Regions from separate parts of the Homo sapiens genome. Here all the other regions are linked to region 4. The links are contacts of gene promoters, found by promoter capture Hi-C in blood cells and fetal thymus (Javierre and others, 2016). All regions are on one chromosome and are shown on one strand. The core of a region is centred on a gene start or on the middle of the fragment in contact, and the rest is flanking DNA. Distances in the headings are between cores, read along the strand shown. Region 1 holds the start of PALS1 (protein associated with LIN7 1, MAGUK p55 family member). Region 2 overlaps GPHN (gephyrin). Region 3 overlaps CCDC196 (coiled-coil domain containing 196). Region 4 holds the start of COX16 (cytochrome c oxidase assembly factor COX16).

What was found. Contacts are between HindIII fragments. The CHiCAGO score rates a contact against its expected background, and 5 or more counts as called.
Region 1: the fragment with the promoter of PALS1 here is called in contact with the fragment with the promoter of COX16 in region 4 in 1 of 17 cell types (monocytes); the score reaches 9.1 in monocytes.
Region 2: a contact is called between a fragment that was not itself captured here and the fragment with the promoter of COX16 in region 4, in 2 of 17 cell types (naive CD4 T cells and monocytes). The highest score is 5.5, in naive CD4 T cells.
Region 3: a contact is called between a fragment that was not itself captured here and the fragment with the promoter of COX16 in region 4, in 1 of 17 cell types (monocytes). The highest score is 5.2, in monocytes.

Annotation. Positions count from the first base shown.
Region 1 is chr14:67,240,139-67,244,410 of GRCh38, forward strand. PALS1 (protein associated with LIN7 1, MAGUK p55 family member) reads left to right here and starts at 1,297. Exons shown (of 15, transcript NM_022474.4): 1 at 1,297-1,395. LOC124903330 (a long non-coding RNA gene) reads right to left here and starts at 1,271. Exons shown (of 2, transcript XR_007064217.1): 1 at 1-1,271. It also overlaps a transcript of GPHN not described here. RefSeq lists an enhancer at 649-928 and a silencer at 909-1,878. The HindIII fragment of the contact is 3,073 bases long and covers 1-2,464 here.
Region 2 is chr14:66,513,758-66,517,573 of GRCh38, forward strand. All of the region lies in intron 1 of GPHN (gephyrin), which reads left to right. Among named protein-coding and RNA genes, the nearest start is that of GPHN, 7.5 kb to the left of the region's middle. The HindIII fragment of the contact is 5,208 bases long and covers 1-3,816 here.
Region 3 is chr14:66,493,545-66,497,489 of GRCh38, forward strand. All of the region lies in intron 8 of CCDC196 (coiled-coil domain containing 196), which reads left to right. Among named protein-coding and RNA genes, the nearest start is that of CCDC196, 9.1 kb to the left of the region's middle. The HindIII fragment of the contact is 3,219 bases long and covers 413-3,631 here.
Region 4 is chr14:70,358,345-70,362,515 of GRCh38, forward strand. COX16 (cytochrome c oxidase assembly factor COX16) reads right to left here and starts at 1,339. Exons shown (of 4, transcript NM_016468.7): 1 at 1,175-1,339. The coding sequence starts at 1,243. All of the region lies in intron 3 of SYNJ2BP-COX16 (SYNJ2BP-COX16 readthrough), which reads right to left. It also overlaps the pseudogene RNU2-51P. RefSeq lists enhancers at 1,059-1,368, 1,829-1,918. The HindIII fragment of the contact is 4,146 bases long and covers 804-4,171 here.

The DNA of each region.
Region 1 (4,272 bases), core at 47-2,546, 3.1 Mb before region 4:
GTCTTATTAAACACTTGGACAGAATGCTGATCAGATTTGAGAAGGATAACAAATCTGGGAAGGGTAGGCATCCCCAAAGATCTTCACCACCAGGAACAACGGTTTGCTTCGTTCAGGCCATCACAGTGTCCTTAGTGAGGGACACCACAACCCATAGGCTGTCCAGAGGAGCGTAATGGGGAAGAATGTGAAAGAGCTTGAAAATCAGGACCTGAGGACATTGCGAGATGGAAAAACACCGTGGGACAAAATGAGGAAAACCGAGAGAAATGGAAATGGCATATACGAAGGCTTTGAGGGAGGACTGTGCCCCTGGGGGAAACTGTGCCCCCGGGCTGGAGTCACAGGCATAGTTTGGCCTCATAGAAGGAGAGGTCGATTAACAAACCTTGCAAGTGTTCAAATGTGGAATGGGCTTGCTCGGAAGGTACTGTCAAGACAGAGACCATCCGAGGGCTTTTATTGCAAGTGTCGAGACACATTGCTGGTGTTTCTCCTTAGAACGTCCTCCAATCTGCTCTGACTTCCGCCCGCACCCGCCTGAGTCCTGCCCCATTCCAAGGGTGGCACATCCAGGTCCCGAGGGCGCCAGCCATGCCCGGAGCACGGGCTGATCTGCGTAACTCTGTCCCTTCGGGAGACTTCTGGGAAATAGTTCTAGTCCTTGCTATCCTTGCTTTCTGGTTTTCAGAAATCAGTGCAGCTGCTGGCTTTATGCAGTCTTCTGCGGGACACTGCACACATCCAGGTGTTTATGTCATTTTTTAAAAAAAACAAATGTTAGATTGGGTGACTAACTTGACAGGACATGAGGAATCTCTTCAAGAGGAATCAGATTTTCTTCAGGATACGTCATCCAGAGACAAGAGCCAAGGGATGTAGAAACCCAGGGAAGCCTCGCGTCCCCACAAAGCCCGCCGGCCAAATCCCGAAGGGGCTCTACCGGGCCAGCTAGCCCGGAGCAGTCCGCGTTTTAGACTTAGAGGCGCGCGACTGCGCGCACCCGGCTGGAGCTGCGGAGAGGACCAATGAGCGGGCGCTCTCTCCGCTCCGGCTCGGGATTGGGCAAGCCGCGCCAGCCTCTCACGGGCGGGGTGGGACTCGGATCCGCGCGCCCACTGCGCCAGAGTCCCGGGGGCGCGTGCGCGGTCTCGCGGCGGCCGCAGGGGCCGGTCTCGCGCGGTCTAGAAGTGGAGTTGCTGGCGGCTGCGGCGGTGACGGCGGCGACGGAGGAGGCAGGCGGTGGGGCGGGGGCGGGGACTAAGGATTCTGAGGTGGGGAGTCGGGAGTTTCTGGATTCTTTATCCGGAATTTCAAGGGCCGCCGGAGGGCTGTCGCTTCTGCAGTGCGTAGGAGCGGCCGGGGCGGGAGGCTCCGCGGAGCCGAGGCGTGGAGGTAAGAGGCGGATCGGCGGCGGCTGGGCTGTAGAGATCTTAATCAACAGGTCCCTGGGAGCGCGGCGGGGGAGGGGCGGGCGGCCGGGCTCCCCTTCCCCCACACGCTGCGCAAACTCCGGCCAGCGGGAGACCCCTGGCAGCCAGGCGGGCTTCCTCAGGCGCGCGAGCTGCGGCCGTGGAGGGTGTGAGCCCAACCTTTGTCCCTCGGAGCAACGCTGCCTGCGCGGTGCCCGCTCCTTCTGCTTGGCTGGGCATGCACCTTGGCGCGGGCCACAGCCAGCCGAGCCCGAGGTGCAGGGGGCGCGGCGGGGAGTCGTCTGCCCCCTGCGCCCTCTCTCCGAGGTCGCGACGCGCGGGACTCTCCCGGCCGGGTCTGGGAAATCGGCGAGGGAACGCTTTCCTTTAGAAGTCAGAATGTAGTCAGCGTTCCTCTGCCTGACTCAGCTGCTGGTATTCTGCTGCTCATTGCGTTCTTAAACACGCAAACAGTTCCTGCTTCCTTGTGACCACTTTAAAAGAAAAGCCTAGTTTTGTTCATGGTTTCTGATACTTTAAGGTTGCACGTTGAACTTTGAAGCATGTAAATTGTTATAACCTACGTTTAATGAAGTTTGCTTTAAACGATCTTTGTAGTAAATTATGTAACTTTCTAATGATCATAACTCACCTTCTGTTGATTGACATACAGTAATGTGTACGGAATGTAGGTTTCGGTCAAAAGGTTTTTCTTGGCAGTTTATGCTAAAATTAAAATCTGATGGCTAGGAAGTTTTTAGATGTAGTATGGAGTGTGTGTTTTGTCTCCATACTCGTTTAGAATAGTAAGAATTTAGATTTGGAAAGTCAGTTGAACAAAAATTTTGAAATTTTGATTTGACTGACGCAGTGAAAGGTGTTAATATTTCTGATTTTTTAAAAAAGCAATATCATGTTTTAATGATAGTTTACTAATTATGCTTTTGGATTATACCAGAAGTTAATAACCTGTTAAATTATGCAATAGGAACAAATGACGTGTTGGTTATTGGTGTCTTTGAAGTATTGGTGGTAATGAAACTTATTAAATAAGCTTCCTTGAATTAAGAACTACGATTTTTTTTTTTTACTAGATCCCTGTGGACATAGCTATTGTGGATAGGTTTTATAGGCTTTCTATTTGCGGCAGGATGAGCTATTAAATTATAATGTAAGAGATTTATAGATAAAACAGGCAAAAATAGGAAAAGCAATTCATTATTTTATCTTTAAAAATCTGGTAAATTTTACCATGTACCTGAATTAGTTTTGGCAAGACGGACTTGAACTTGACAAATTAAGGTGGATTGATTAACATTAATTTGTTTTAGAATGTTAAAACGGGAGAGAATATATAAGTTCTACTTGAGGGTGACCCAAGTCAGTACAGTGGGTTTAGCTTTTACATGATCTTGAATTATGATTTTGATTAAAAATCTCATCACAGGGGCACGTGTTTTCAGGATCTCCTGAGGGCTGTGTCATGGAAAAAATAAAATTTATCACCCATTCCAAGAAATTTGATCAATTTTATATATTATTTACTGAAATGCCCTATTTCTCTGATATTTTCTGATTTCAGAGTGTCTAGAAAAAAATAGTATCTTGACATATGTGCTTATATAGAATATAATTGTCTTTTCTTTTTTTTTTTGTGAGACATAGTCTCGCTCTTGCCCAGGCTGGAGTGTAGTGGCGCGATCTTGGCTCACTGCAGTCTCCACCTCCCTGGTTCAAGTGATTCTCCTGCTCTCAGCCTCCCGACTAGCTGGGACTACAGGTGCTCGCCACCACACCTGGCTAATTTTTGTATTTTTAGTAGAGACGGGGTTTCACCATGTTGGCCAGGCTGGCCTCGAACTCCTGACCTCAGGTGATCCACCCGCCTCGGCCTCCTGAAATGCTGGGATTACAGGCGTGAGCCACCGCCAGAATATAATTTTTTTTTTTTTTTTTTTTTGAGACGGAGTCTCGCGCTGTCGCCCAGGCTGGAGTGCAGTGGCGCAATCTCGGCTCACTGCAAGCTCTGCCTCCCGGGTTCACGCCATTTTTCTGCCTCAGCCTCCCGAGTAGTTGGGACTACAGGTGCCCGCCACCACGCCTGCTAATTTTTTGTATTTTTTTTTTAGTAGAGACGGGTTTTCACCGTGTTAGCCAGGATGATCTCAATCTCCTGACCTCGTGATCCGCCCGCCTCGCCCTCCCAAAGTGCTGGGATTACAGGCGTGAGCCACCGCGCCCAGCCCTTATGATTTTTGATCATATACTTACTGAATCATAGGATCGTTGAGTTGGAAGTAATCTTAGTGGTTATATAGTCTAACCTCTTCATTTTCCATGAAAAAGAAAGTGAGGCTTGCAGGAGTTAAGTAATCCGTAGTCTGACTGCTAGTTAGGGGCAGACTTGGAACTACATGAATGCTAAAATGCTGTTCTCCATATTCTAAGTCTCCATATTCTAAATTCAGTGCTCTTCTCAGGATGTCTCATTGTTAGATAAACCAATAAGTTGCCTTTTCCAAATCACTTAACTGGCAGGATTCTTTCTGTCATGGATTTTTTCCGTTTTCTTTTTTAATAACTACTAACTGCAATTCATTCCCCTACTGAAGAATTTTCAGTTTTTTAATATTTCAAACAATGTTTAATGAATATCTTTGTGTATGTCTCCTTGAGCGCATGTGTGGACGCTTTCCTAGAATGTATGTATACCTACCTATAAGTGGAATTGCTGATAATAGGTTGATATGTGTTTTCAACATTACTAGCTACAGCCAAATTACCCTTTTTAATGCTGTAATCATTTACATTCCTGCAAACAGTATGAGTGACAGTGGCTTCACATTCTTGCCCACACTGG
Region 2 (3,816 bases), core at 349-2,848, 3.8 Mb before region 4:
AAAGGAAATGTTTAATGAAGTATTGCTAGGTAGAAGTTCTATCCAGGTTCTTTAATGAATTTATAAACTAAATTGTTTTTAATAAATTAATTTTAACTAAGTAGAGCTTCTTGAAAATTTTGTGTTTAAACAACCCCAACAATTTTAACAGTAGCTTTGTCAGTATTTATACATTTCGAAAGAGTGTAATTAAATTTACCATGCTTTAAAAAGAATTCTTAATTTGAAAAATAAAGCAGCAAGGAAATGAAATATGATGAAGGAATTGTCACCATAATTTGGGGCATTCTTCTCAAACTGGAGTACATGACATTGTGTCAAGGGATACCTATAAGGCTTAGAATCTAAGCCACAGGAACAAACATAATAATTTTTTAAGTACCAATTTTACTTGATGGTATTAATTTAAATAACTTTAATATTAAGATAAGCATAAGTAAATTAGGCACAAAGTATAGAATTCATATGAGGCTTTAAGATGAAATTAGAAACTTCAAAGAAATTTCAAGTGAGCCCATTATATTTCAAGTGAGCTCCAGATCTCGTCATTCTTCTGCGTTATTGACACTTCATGGCAAAAAATTTAAGGAGCACTGAATCATAGAAAGAACACTGTAAGAACTATGTTCTCATACTATTCTGGCTAGTAAAGTTTTGTAACCTTCAGTATATTGTGTAACCCTCTCTCAGCTTTTCTTACCACTAAAATGAAGAAATCACTCTCTAAGATCACTTCAAGGCTCTCATGGCAGTATATGTTTCTATCTTTTAGCATTCTGACCAGCAGGAAAGAGAAATATAGGATATTAGACCTAGTTAATTTTTTTCTGTCTTTATAATGGGAATGATTATAGGGGAGGGTAGGTTATACATAAAAATGCAAGAGAATAAGAAATAGAATAATGATCAAAGAAGGAAAATATTTAGATTTTTTATTTAGAAATTTTTGTGACATTAATCTTTCTGTTATTAGCAATCTTACACTTAGGTTTCAGACACAGCTCAGGACTGACTTTGTCAATAAAATATTTCCTAGGAATTATTCTCTTCAATGATGTCTTTCTTTGTTTTCCTTACAACGTTTATAAATGTTGTCTATACCCTGTAATCTATATGTGGGAGGCTGCATGGTGTAGCTTAAAAAGGATAGAACTTTGGAGTCAGATAGACTTGGACTTCAGACCCTCATTTGCCCTTTATTTTGGGAAGTCATTTCACCTCTCTGAATTTCAGTTTTCTTCTCCGAAATGAAGATGGCAATATCTACTTTACAAAGTTTTCAGAACTAATAGAGGTAACGCATATGAAAATGCCTAGCATTTTCAGATGAGATACTCAGTTATTTTTGGTTCCTTCCTCTTTGTATGTTGCTTTGGGAGCAACTTGCCACAGTTTCGTGTATACATGTCTTATTCAAAGTAGATTTTAAAGTTCTTGAGATATATGGTTATGTTCTTTACTTCTTTTGTGCCCTTTTGTCATAGCATCTGTTAATGAAGTAATTGGATAGAAGGTGTTTAATAAAAAAATTGGGTGGTGTAAAATTTATATAGTACCTTAAGAAACATTTAGGTAAACCAGAACTTGGCTATTATTACTAAAAGGATAGTTTAGGGTAGATGGAGTGAAGTTGATTAGTTTTTAAAAGGTATGTTTTTCTGGTAATAGGATGATATTTATAACGATGTGTGTTTGAGATGTTTTATAGCATTAAATTTTGTATATTGTTTTAGTTGGGTGTTGTTTGTGTGAGGATAATTTTAGACTAATGAAATTTGATATCTAAAAACTAAAAATTTGAAATTATAGGTAAAAAAATTCTGAAAATGCTGTTAATGTTGATTCTGGTGATCAAAATAACACTGTTAGGAGTCAAAAGTTATGCCTCTTCTCCCACTTTCAAGATAAGCACATTTTACCACAGTTTCCTTACCTTTAAATGGGGGTAAGTGTGTTTACCTTGATGGGTTAATGTGAGAAATGAAATAATGTATTCAGTATTCAACACCTACTATGTACCAAGGCCCTGTGCTAAGTGAAGGATACAATAGTGATTAAGACAGTTCAATCTTTCTTGTCTTGAAGCATATATTCTAGCACTACTGTGAAAACATTATTCAGTCAAGTTGAATATTGACACATTCATGCTTCATTTATGTTTCAAGGAATAAGGTGCTTTTATATTTTATTTTTTAAGTAGATAACAAGTACAAGCACCAAAACTGTTTTTATGTCAAGCCATTTTTTTGATACACATTTTTTTTTTTTTGAGACGGACTCACTCTGTCGCCCAGGCTGGAATGCAGTGGTGCGATCTCAGCTTGCTGCAACCTCTGCCTCCCGGGTTCAAGTGATTCTCCTGCCTCAGCCTCCCGAGTAGCTGGGATTACAGGCGCCTGCCACCATGCCTGGCTAATTTTTTTTTTTTTTTTGTATTTTTAGTAGAGACAGAGTTTTACCATGTTGGCCAGGCTGGTTTTGGACTCCTGACCTCAAGTGATCTACCTGCCTTAGCCTCCCAAAGTGCTGGGATTACAGATGTGAGCCACCGTGCCTGGCCAGCAATTATATTTCTACATTCTATTCTGAATATCTGTTACTGTGACATGATAGTATGTTTCCATAACGTATATGCTTTTCAGGTTTTACCCACTTGCCCTTCCTCTTCCTGCCCTGCCCTTCTAATCTACTATATCCTTGGGAACCACATAAACTTGCTAAGAATTATTTGTGATATTACATCCAGTTAGATTTGAAGTGAGGGTCTAAAGGCACATATTTTCACTTTTGGGTTCAGGGCATCAGAAAATGAGTGGATATTACTATAATAAATAGCTTTATTTCTTTGTATAGTACTTCACGATTTCAGGATCATGGCTAAATGTGTCTGCCTGATGCTGTAAATGTTAATAAAAATCCACTCTATGAGTGAAAGAGATTAAGTGCAATTTGAATGCTAAGTAAAAATGAAATGTTTCTTTTAATTATTTCTTGTTCTTTTAAAAAACACATTAATGTGCACTTGAAATTAATAATCTTTAAAGTCTAATTAATGGTTAAGAACTGTTGGATATCTTATAAATAAGAAACTGAGCCAGGCACAGGGGCTCACGCCTGTAATCCCAGCACTTTGGGAGGCTGAGGCGGGCAGATCACGAAGTCAGGAGATTGAGACCATCCTGGCCAACATGGTGAAACCCCACCTCTACTAAAAATATGAAAATTAGGCAGGCATGGTGGTGTGTGCCTGTAATCCCAGCTACTCGGGAGTGAGGCAGGAGAATCACTTGAACCCCTGAGGCAGAGATTGTAGTGAGCCAAGACTGTGCCACTGTACTCCAGCCTGGCCACACAGTGAGACTCCATCTCAAAAAAAAAAAAAAAAAAAAAAAAAAGAAGAAACTGAATAGAGTAAAAATACTATTTTCAGATGTAAAAAGATGAAGGAACATTTACACGGTGGTGCCCCCCTCTTCACTTTCACCTAAGAGTCTATACAGAACATTTTGATTATAGTCTAAACTTTAAAAATTATGCTTTCATAAAATTAACATCCACATTGTAGAAGTTACGTTTGGATTAAACTGCAAGTGGGCACTACCCAAAGCAATCTACAGATTCAATGCAGTCCTATCAATGACATTCTATACCAATGACATTCTTCACAGAAATAGGGAAAAAAAAGTTAAAATTTGTATGGAACCATAAAGGACCTGGAATAGCCAAAGCAATCCTGAACAAAAAGGACAAAGCTGGAGACATCATACTATCAGACTTTAAAATATACTACAGAGTGATAGTAACCAAAACAGCATG
Region 3 (3,945 bases), core at 772-3,271, 3.9 Mb before region 4:
TTTCCTAGGTTGTTTCTCCTCTGTTCTTTGGCATAATCTGATAAAAAGATATTAATCTGAAATTTATTTTAAGTGACAAATCACCTCAAGATGATTTGATTCAGGTACATAAGACTCTCTGGTCTGGCTTGATCCATAGGTAAATTTTAGAAAACTAGTAAGACTGAACTGACTATCCTTCAGGCAGTATTCTATGCATATTTTTCTTTCAATTTATGTTCTAATAAGAATTGGACAGCATAAAATTGGAAAGAATCCTGGAATGCAACAAGAAGCAGTATTAAATCATTAAGATACAAATTTAAAAGACAGAAGAGAAGAGGGTTATGAGGAAGACAGACAAGTCCCTGTTTTACTTCATTCAAAATTAGCTGAAGGTCATCTCAAGGGATCTATATGGTAAAGAGCCAAAAGCTTTTTAGCTCCAGAATCAAATTAAGTCTAAATTAGTAAATAAGGGTTCCATTCAACTTGATTGTCTCAGGAGATATTTTTTCTCCTTGCATGTAAAACATTGAATCAACTTTGAATTGGAACAGCCACAGATCCACATCTTCTTTTCTCTCCTTTCCTTTTATGTTCCTGGAGAATTAAATGATAGGGTACTATACGGCTTAGTTACCACAAATTAATGTAGCCACAGGCAATGGATCAATGTGTTAAATTGATTCTGCATTCATTTAGCACTAATTATGGGCCAGTTTCATTTTCTAACACATGTATTCAAACTCTATAGGTTTGTTTGAGCCCAAGTGGATTTGAAATCTAATGGAGTCCTATATTTTGGTTATGTGGCCTATTTTTTCACCTCTAGTATTTGATTATTTAAAAGCAAACAAATATTCTCTTCATAAAGGATTTTAAAACTAATTATGTAAAGAGGTTATTACCAACCTATTTGGTAATAATTTCTTAATGGTAGGTGTTGTAGTATTTTCCAACTTTGTGTATCACCTGGACTATTATTTATTCAATATTTGTTGTTTACATTGACTTCTTTAGTTTCCTAAATGCATTCCTTGAAAATAAAATTTATATTACTATTTTAAATGAAGAATCAATAGAGTTTTCCACAATAGAAGGTAAACTTAATAATAAATACACAAAAAACAAGATTTTAATGTTCTAGAAAAATACATAAGCCTGAGATCTATTTTATCTCCATTAGGAAGTGAGATTAGAAAGACATACAGAATTTTGGCCAGGCATGGTGGCTCACGCCTGTAATCCCAGCACTTTGGGAGGCTGAGGCAGGTGGATCACGCGGTCAGGAGATTGAGACAATCCTGGTTAACATGGTGAAACCCCATCTCTACAACAAAATACAGAAAATTAGCCAGGTGTGGTGGCACACACCTATAGTCCCAGATACTCAGGAGGCTGAGGCAGGAGAATCGCTTGAACCTGGGAGGCAGAGGTTACAGTGAGCTGCGATGACGCCACTGCACTCCAGCCTAGGTGACAGAGCGAGACTTCGTATCAAAAAAAAAAAAAAAAGACATAGAGAACTTTAAAGAAAGCCAGCACCAAACTGCAACTTTCTCCTTGATGCCATCAAGTTTGAAATAATTGAAAAGGCAATAATTTTCTCACTGTGATTTATAGTATTTAATGCCTTGTCCCAACACCGAAATTTATCCCAATTGCCACCTAAAATCATCTCATCATCAAATTTTGGCAAATTGTAATTTAAGGAAAAAAGCACTGAATTTAAGACTCAGATACATGAGTTGCAGGCCTTCCTCTGAGGCTCACCAGTTATATGACTTGGAAAAGTCATTTAATTTCAGGTTTTAAAAATACAAACAACATTAACATGGAGCATGCTGAGAACTTAATACCTTGTGCAACCCTCACAGTGACTCTATGAAAGGTATTATAGAACAAGAAACAAGCTCAGAGAAGCCAGGCTTCTTGGCTCCATATTCAATCCTTATTCCCTAGACTATGCTACAAAATGGATGTGTAAAAGCATGTGACTTTTCATGCCTCTTCTAGATCTAAACGCTATAATTTGAATCCAAATTTATTATCTGTTTAACGTATAATCTTCTCAGTGAAGAAGCATACTCCTAAGGTTAATTTGTTCAGTAAGAAAATGTTAACTCTGCATTTAGCCCAGTAGGTGGCACCAACCACATCCAGGCTTCAAGTCCACAGAGTGGTAATTCAGGAACCATGAAATGCTGTGGGAGAGATCGGTCTTCTATTACTCTCAGGACAAAAGGTGCCACATTCATGTATCAAATGAAAAAAGAAAAAAATTTCTTGATGTTTTATCACATGCTCTTTTGGCACCAAGGTGTATTACTGGCAGCCTTGATTAGACCATGTTAAACTCAGTGTTCTGTTGCATAATTTTTACCTAGTATTTTACTCCCTGTACTACAGTTATCTCCATTTCAAAAAACAGTCACTGCCCACTTCCTCCACAATCCTTGTAGAATAGTGTTCCCTTCCACCACAGATAAATCAGGCGATTGGGGCACTAAAAGAAAAAATGAGCACTAAACAAAAAATAAAAGATGGTGCTTATTTGAAGTTTGTATACTTAACAGTGTTACAGGACAGCGTTTCTTTTTCTCTAGTTTCAAAAGAATTGAATTGCACAAACCTGTCTTAGAGAAAGGGTGGAATATAATTTTGGACACACCTCTCAGTAAATCAGGGTACAGGCTTTTCTGTTCTAAGCATTTCCAAGTAGATGAAGAGTTTACCTCAGTACTCTTAGCCAAGAATTCCTCCTCCCACTGTCCGATGTGCTGGTTGGCTGAGTTGCAGTGGTATGATCTGTGTAGCTGGCAAAATACAATCCTGTGTTAATATTACTGATTTTGTTACACTTCAACAAATCCCTACTTGTGAATTCCCTTGATGCCCAGGATGTGGCATTACCGTCATCCATGTTATCTCTTTGGCATGCTGCCTCACTTAGTCTGTTTATACCTACGATGAAGTCTTTACTTTTGATCTTTCCGGAGACAGGTGACATTTGAAAGGATTTACTTTTCCACCAGTGTAAAATTATAATTTGATTCAGGGTGTATTGTAGGCCCTCCCTAACTTCTATAGAGTCCAGAAGGCAAGTTTGTGGACTTTGGCAGTCACCTATCTTAGAGAGCACAGGTGCTAAGCAATCTCTAAATTCAACTGAATTTCCCATCATATCTGCTGGTGTTTAAAGAAGAGGTTTATCTTCAGCAATAATATAACTTGTGTTAAGACATTTGATTCTGATAGCTTTGCTTTTCTCTCCTCCCCTCAATCCCCACCAACTCTTAGCATTTCCTTGAGCTCTTCTGAGAAAAACCTGAACGTTGGATGTGAGTATTATGCTACACTTATAAATTCAGATGAAAGCCCAGCGAAATGGGAAATGAATACTCTTTGAGACCTTATTTATTCTCTAACTCCTTCTGTTCTGAAAGCAAGTCATTCTTCCTGGCTTTAACCTTTACTTCACTTTAGTATTATTCTTCCTGATGGCTGAACTACACTTCAGCAGGTGCTGCTGAAGGGAAAATAGTAGTGTTAAGCTAAAATGCTGAAGGGCAGGGGCGGAAAACCACAGCTAGCTCAAATCCGGGTCCTTGATAAGCAGTACTGTTGCTTTCAAGTACAGGCTTTTTAAAGCTTTGAGGCAACCTGAACCTTTTGAATGTCAAAGTTAGGTTTATGGTATTAATAGGTTATAAAGTTAATTTCTAAACTAAGTCATTCTTTTACTTCTTTAATACTTCACAGAAATTCAGGGGGAGAATAAAATTCTTTTCTTCCTAAATATAAATTTTGAAGCTTGACAAAATAAACTGTACCCTTATTAATATTATTTTAATGGGTGACAACAGATTCCATAATTTGTGGGCATCACACACTCAGGAGTGCAGCAGTATGTCTAGGAAAATGTTATCATATTTAGCAAATAAAAAGGGATACCCTATTAAA
Region 4 (4,171 bases), core at 89-2,588:
TAATATCGAATTTGCTAAAAACAACAATTTTTTTTTTTTTTTTTTTTTTTGGAGAGACAGAGGTCTTGCTGGTTTGGAACTCCTGACCTAAAGCGATCCTCCTGTCTTGGCTTCCCCTAACACTGGGATTACAGGTGTGAGCCATCGTGCTTGGCCCAGATACTTCAAATGGGTGAATCTTTTGGAGATTCCTAAAATCCACATTTGATGAATGTGGATTTTTCAAAACTGTGTAAAATATCCATTACCTTTCTAAGATCACTTCTTTCCTTTAGTCTGCTTAAATGGAAAAGCTGGTAATTTCATCTGCGCCAACATTCATACAAAATAAAAATATAGTCTGTATTTAAAAGCAGCTTTTGTTCATATGCTTTAATTATTTCATTTACTAACACATCAAGGCTTGCTGAAGCAAAATAACTGGCCCGTAATCAAAAAGCAAATAAGAGTCATCTGGATTTCAACTCTGGTTGTCTTAAGCCAGCCTCAGCCTGCATTTCATGACATCCTTAGGGAACTCAGTGTGGATATGGATGAAACCATATAAACACGGAAGCTGTTTTCAACGTGCTTTAGAAATTATAACACAGCAATCATTCTGGCTACAATGTGGCAGGCACCGTACTCAACACTTTATTCACAAGGTGTTATTAGTTCATCACAACTCTAAGTATTAAGCTAATTCACAAACTAGAAAGATGAAACAGAAAGATACCAGGAATTCGTGCAGTTAAATGGAATACATCTAGTCCCAATGATCCACAGTATCGTCAAAACATAGCTAAGTTGGGGGCGAGGAAGCAAGCTTAGTAATCATCCAAACTTGGCTTAAAGTGTGGTTCTGACTGAATTCTCTGAGCTTCAATTTACTTAACTGTGAATCAAGGGTAGTAACAATGACCGCGTTCGACGATGGGAAAGACGCCACGCTCACAAGCAGACAGATCCTAGTACACCTGAAATCCAACCGGGAGTGGGGGACAGCGGCGGGGAAGTGGGGGTGTGGAAAAGACTGGTGGAAGAGCTTTTAGGAAAGCTCTCACCCCGTCGCTAGCTCCTTCCTAGCCCGAGTGCCAGCCCTTAACTTCACATTTTACAGATTCCCTCCCAGGTCTTGATCCTGCCAAGGAGGAGGGTCCCACCCCTTGCGGAAGATCCTCCTCACTCCACTCACCAACATGGGGACTCCATAGCCGAGAGTCTTGTTCTTGCGAAAAGCACGCATCACCGCGGGTGCAAACATGAGTGAACTCTTCCATCGGCTCAGAACTCCAAGCGGGCCTAGCGCAGACTCCCAAATCTCAGCAGCTCACGCTCTCACCAAGACGAGTACGTCCTTAACTCACTTCCTTTTCCTTGGTTATTTGGTGCTCGGTCCTTAGTGAATGGTTTCCGCTAGGCAAAAGCAATCGAGCCATCGTAACATACTTGTGCGTCCGCCCAGAAATGTGGGCGTCAGCGTTTTTGGTTCCGTAACGTCGGCGTGCAATTGGGATTTAGAGATTTGAATCGGTTTACGATCACCACCAAATTGATCTGGAAACCAGTACTTCCCACGTTCTGGGTCCTAACTAACGTCTGCTTAGAACACTCCCTTAGGCACATAGCCACTCGATAAAATCAGCTAAGGAAAAAAGTATTTTGAGGCCGGGCGCGGTGGCCTGGGTGGGTGGCCTGTAATCCCAGCACTTTGGGAGGCCGAGGCCGGTAGATCACCTGAGGTCAGGAGTTCTAGATCAGCCTGGTCAACATGGTAAAACCCCGTCTCTATTAAAAAAAAAAAATACAAAAATTAGCCGGGCGTGGTGGCAGGCGCCTGTAATCCCAGCTACTGGGGGGCCGAGGCAGGAGAATCGCTTGAACCCGGGAGGCGGAGGTTGCAATGAGCAGAGATCGCGCCATCGCACTCCAGCCTGGGGAACAAGAGCGAGACTTCGTCTCAAAAAGAAAAAAGAAAAAAAAGTATTTTGAAGCTGGTACTCCAGTCTTTATGGCTATTTGTGGGATGAGGAATTTGCCAGTTTAATGGAGACTTTTAAAAATAAATCGCTTTTGAAAGATTAGGTTGAAATGTAATCAGTGTAGTGTCTCATCAGTCATTACTGAACTTTTAATGCTAATGATTTTACTGTGAGATAACCTGTAATCTTTAGTCATTTATGAATGTCTATTTACCAATGATTCAGCAACCATACAGGCCACCTTTCAGCGTGTCTTTGAAAGGGTTCTAGGAACACAGATAAAAATATATGATCCTTACCTTAAAGACACTGGCGATTTCATGGGCACAGAAACAAACATGTGTGAAGTACTGGGATAGCTTAGGAAGCCGATCCCCCACGTGTCCCATTTACCAGAGTGAATCAGAGTGCAGGTGATGCGGAATATTATCTTCCATGCTATTCCTGAAATATTTCCATCTGTCCCTGCCTCTCTGTTACCACTGAAATGTTCCTTTTTTTAATTCCTTATCATCTTTTCACCTATTAAAGTAGCCTCTTAAGTGGTCTCCAGAAGAGAAGCTCCAGATCTACTGCAGGCTACTCCAGTGAAACTTATCCTTTTGGCTAAGATCAAGTGTAGTATCTGTTCTTAACAGTTTAATATTTGACACATTCTCTATCCAAGGAAAATATGTTAAATGGGTTTTTGAAGCAAGGAGATGGAATAGGAGTTTGCTCCACCACTCTACACATCAACCTGTATTTCAATACCTCCAGAAACCCAGGAACGGTGCATCTCTCCCATCTTATTTACTTCCTTTTGATATTTCAAAATTCATGCAGACCAGGCATGGTGGCTCATGCCTGTAATACCTGCAGTTTGGGAGGCTGAGGCAGGAGGATCATTTGAGCCCAGGAGTTCGAGACCAGCCTGAGCAACAAAGCAAGACCCCATCTTTACAAATAATAATAATAATAATAAATTAGCCAGGCATGGTGGGGTCTCAGCTACTTGGGAAGCTGAGGTGGGAAGATCACTTGAGCCCAGGAGGTCCAGGCTACAGTGAGCCGTGATCATGCCACTGCACTGCAGCCTGGGTGACACAGCTAGACCCTGTTTCAAAAATAAATAAATAAATCTCACGTGGCATCCAGGTTAGTTAAGCGTATCACATCTCCTACTTTCCCTAAGATCCTAGAAGCCAAAGGCGCTGCTCTAAAACTCTAGCGTTTTCCTACATCTTCACTACATAAAACATCAGCCTACTGGATACTACTCCATCAAAACCCGGCACCTAAGTAGTAGCTAATAATGGGTTAAATCGTATACATATATTCAAAATAATGCTAGAGTCGATAATCTTACACTTTTCAGATAAGGCATCTATCCAATTTAAGGCACTCTATGTCTTTAGTATCTTGTTTGTTCAATCACTCAAATAAGCATTTATTGAGAACCTTGAAATGGCCCTGAAGGAGTAACTGTGAACAGTAGGAATTACAGGTATGCCGGCAGATTGTCAGGGGACAAAATCTGTGACACTGAGGAATGTAAGCACCTATCAAATCATACTACATAGGTGGTAAATTTTACCAGCTATGCATAGCGCCCTTCTTAAGCATCACTACTGTATACTTCAGTTTTTCCATCTGTTAAATCGGAATGAGTGATATTTGTCATCAGTTTACGATTCTCACAAAAAGGGAACACAAAATTTCTTACCAGTATGGAATCTGTTGCCTTCCCAGAAATATGACTCAAATTCCATGTGTTTCCATTGTTAATAAACAGTTAAAATGCTGACTCAGCTATCTTAACTGTAAGAAGTTACAAAAAATGTATATTCAGGAAATGGGGCATCTCCACCATCTATGCCAGTCCCTGAGGACTGGTATGTACTTGATATCCAGGCAGGTTATATTATCCTCTAGTATCTGCTCTACCAGCATTTAACTCATGCAAGTACATGGGAGCGTTGTTATAAAACAAAAACAAAAACACCAGTCTTCTTGAGAGCTTTAGTCCTGAAGTTAGGTTTTAGAATTATGGCCAGAACTGGCCAGCCACAGTGGCTCATACCTGTAATCCCAGCACTTTGGGAGGCCGAGGCGGGCAGATCACCTGAGGTCAGGAGTTTGAGACCAGCCTGGCCAACATGGTGAAACCCTGTCTCTACTAAAACTACAAAAATTAGCCGGGCATGAAGGCGCATGACTGTAATCCCAGC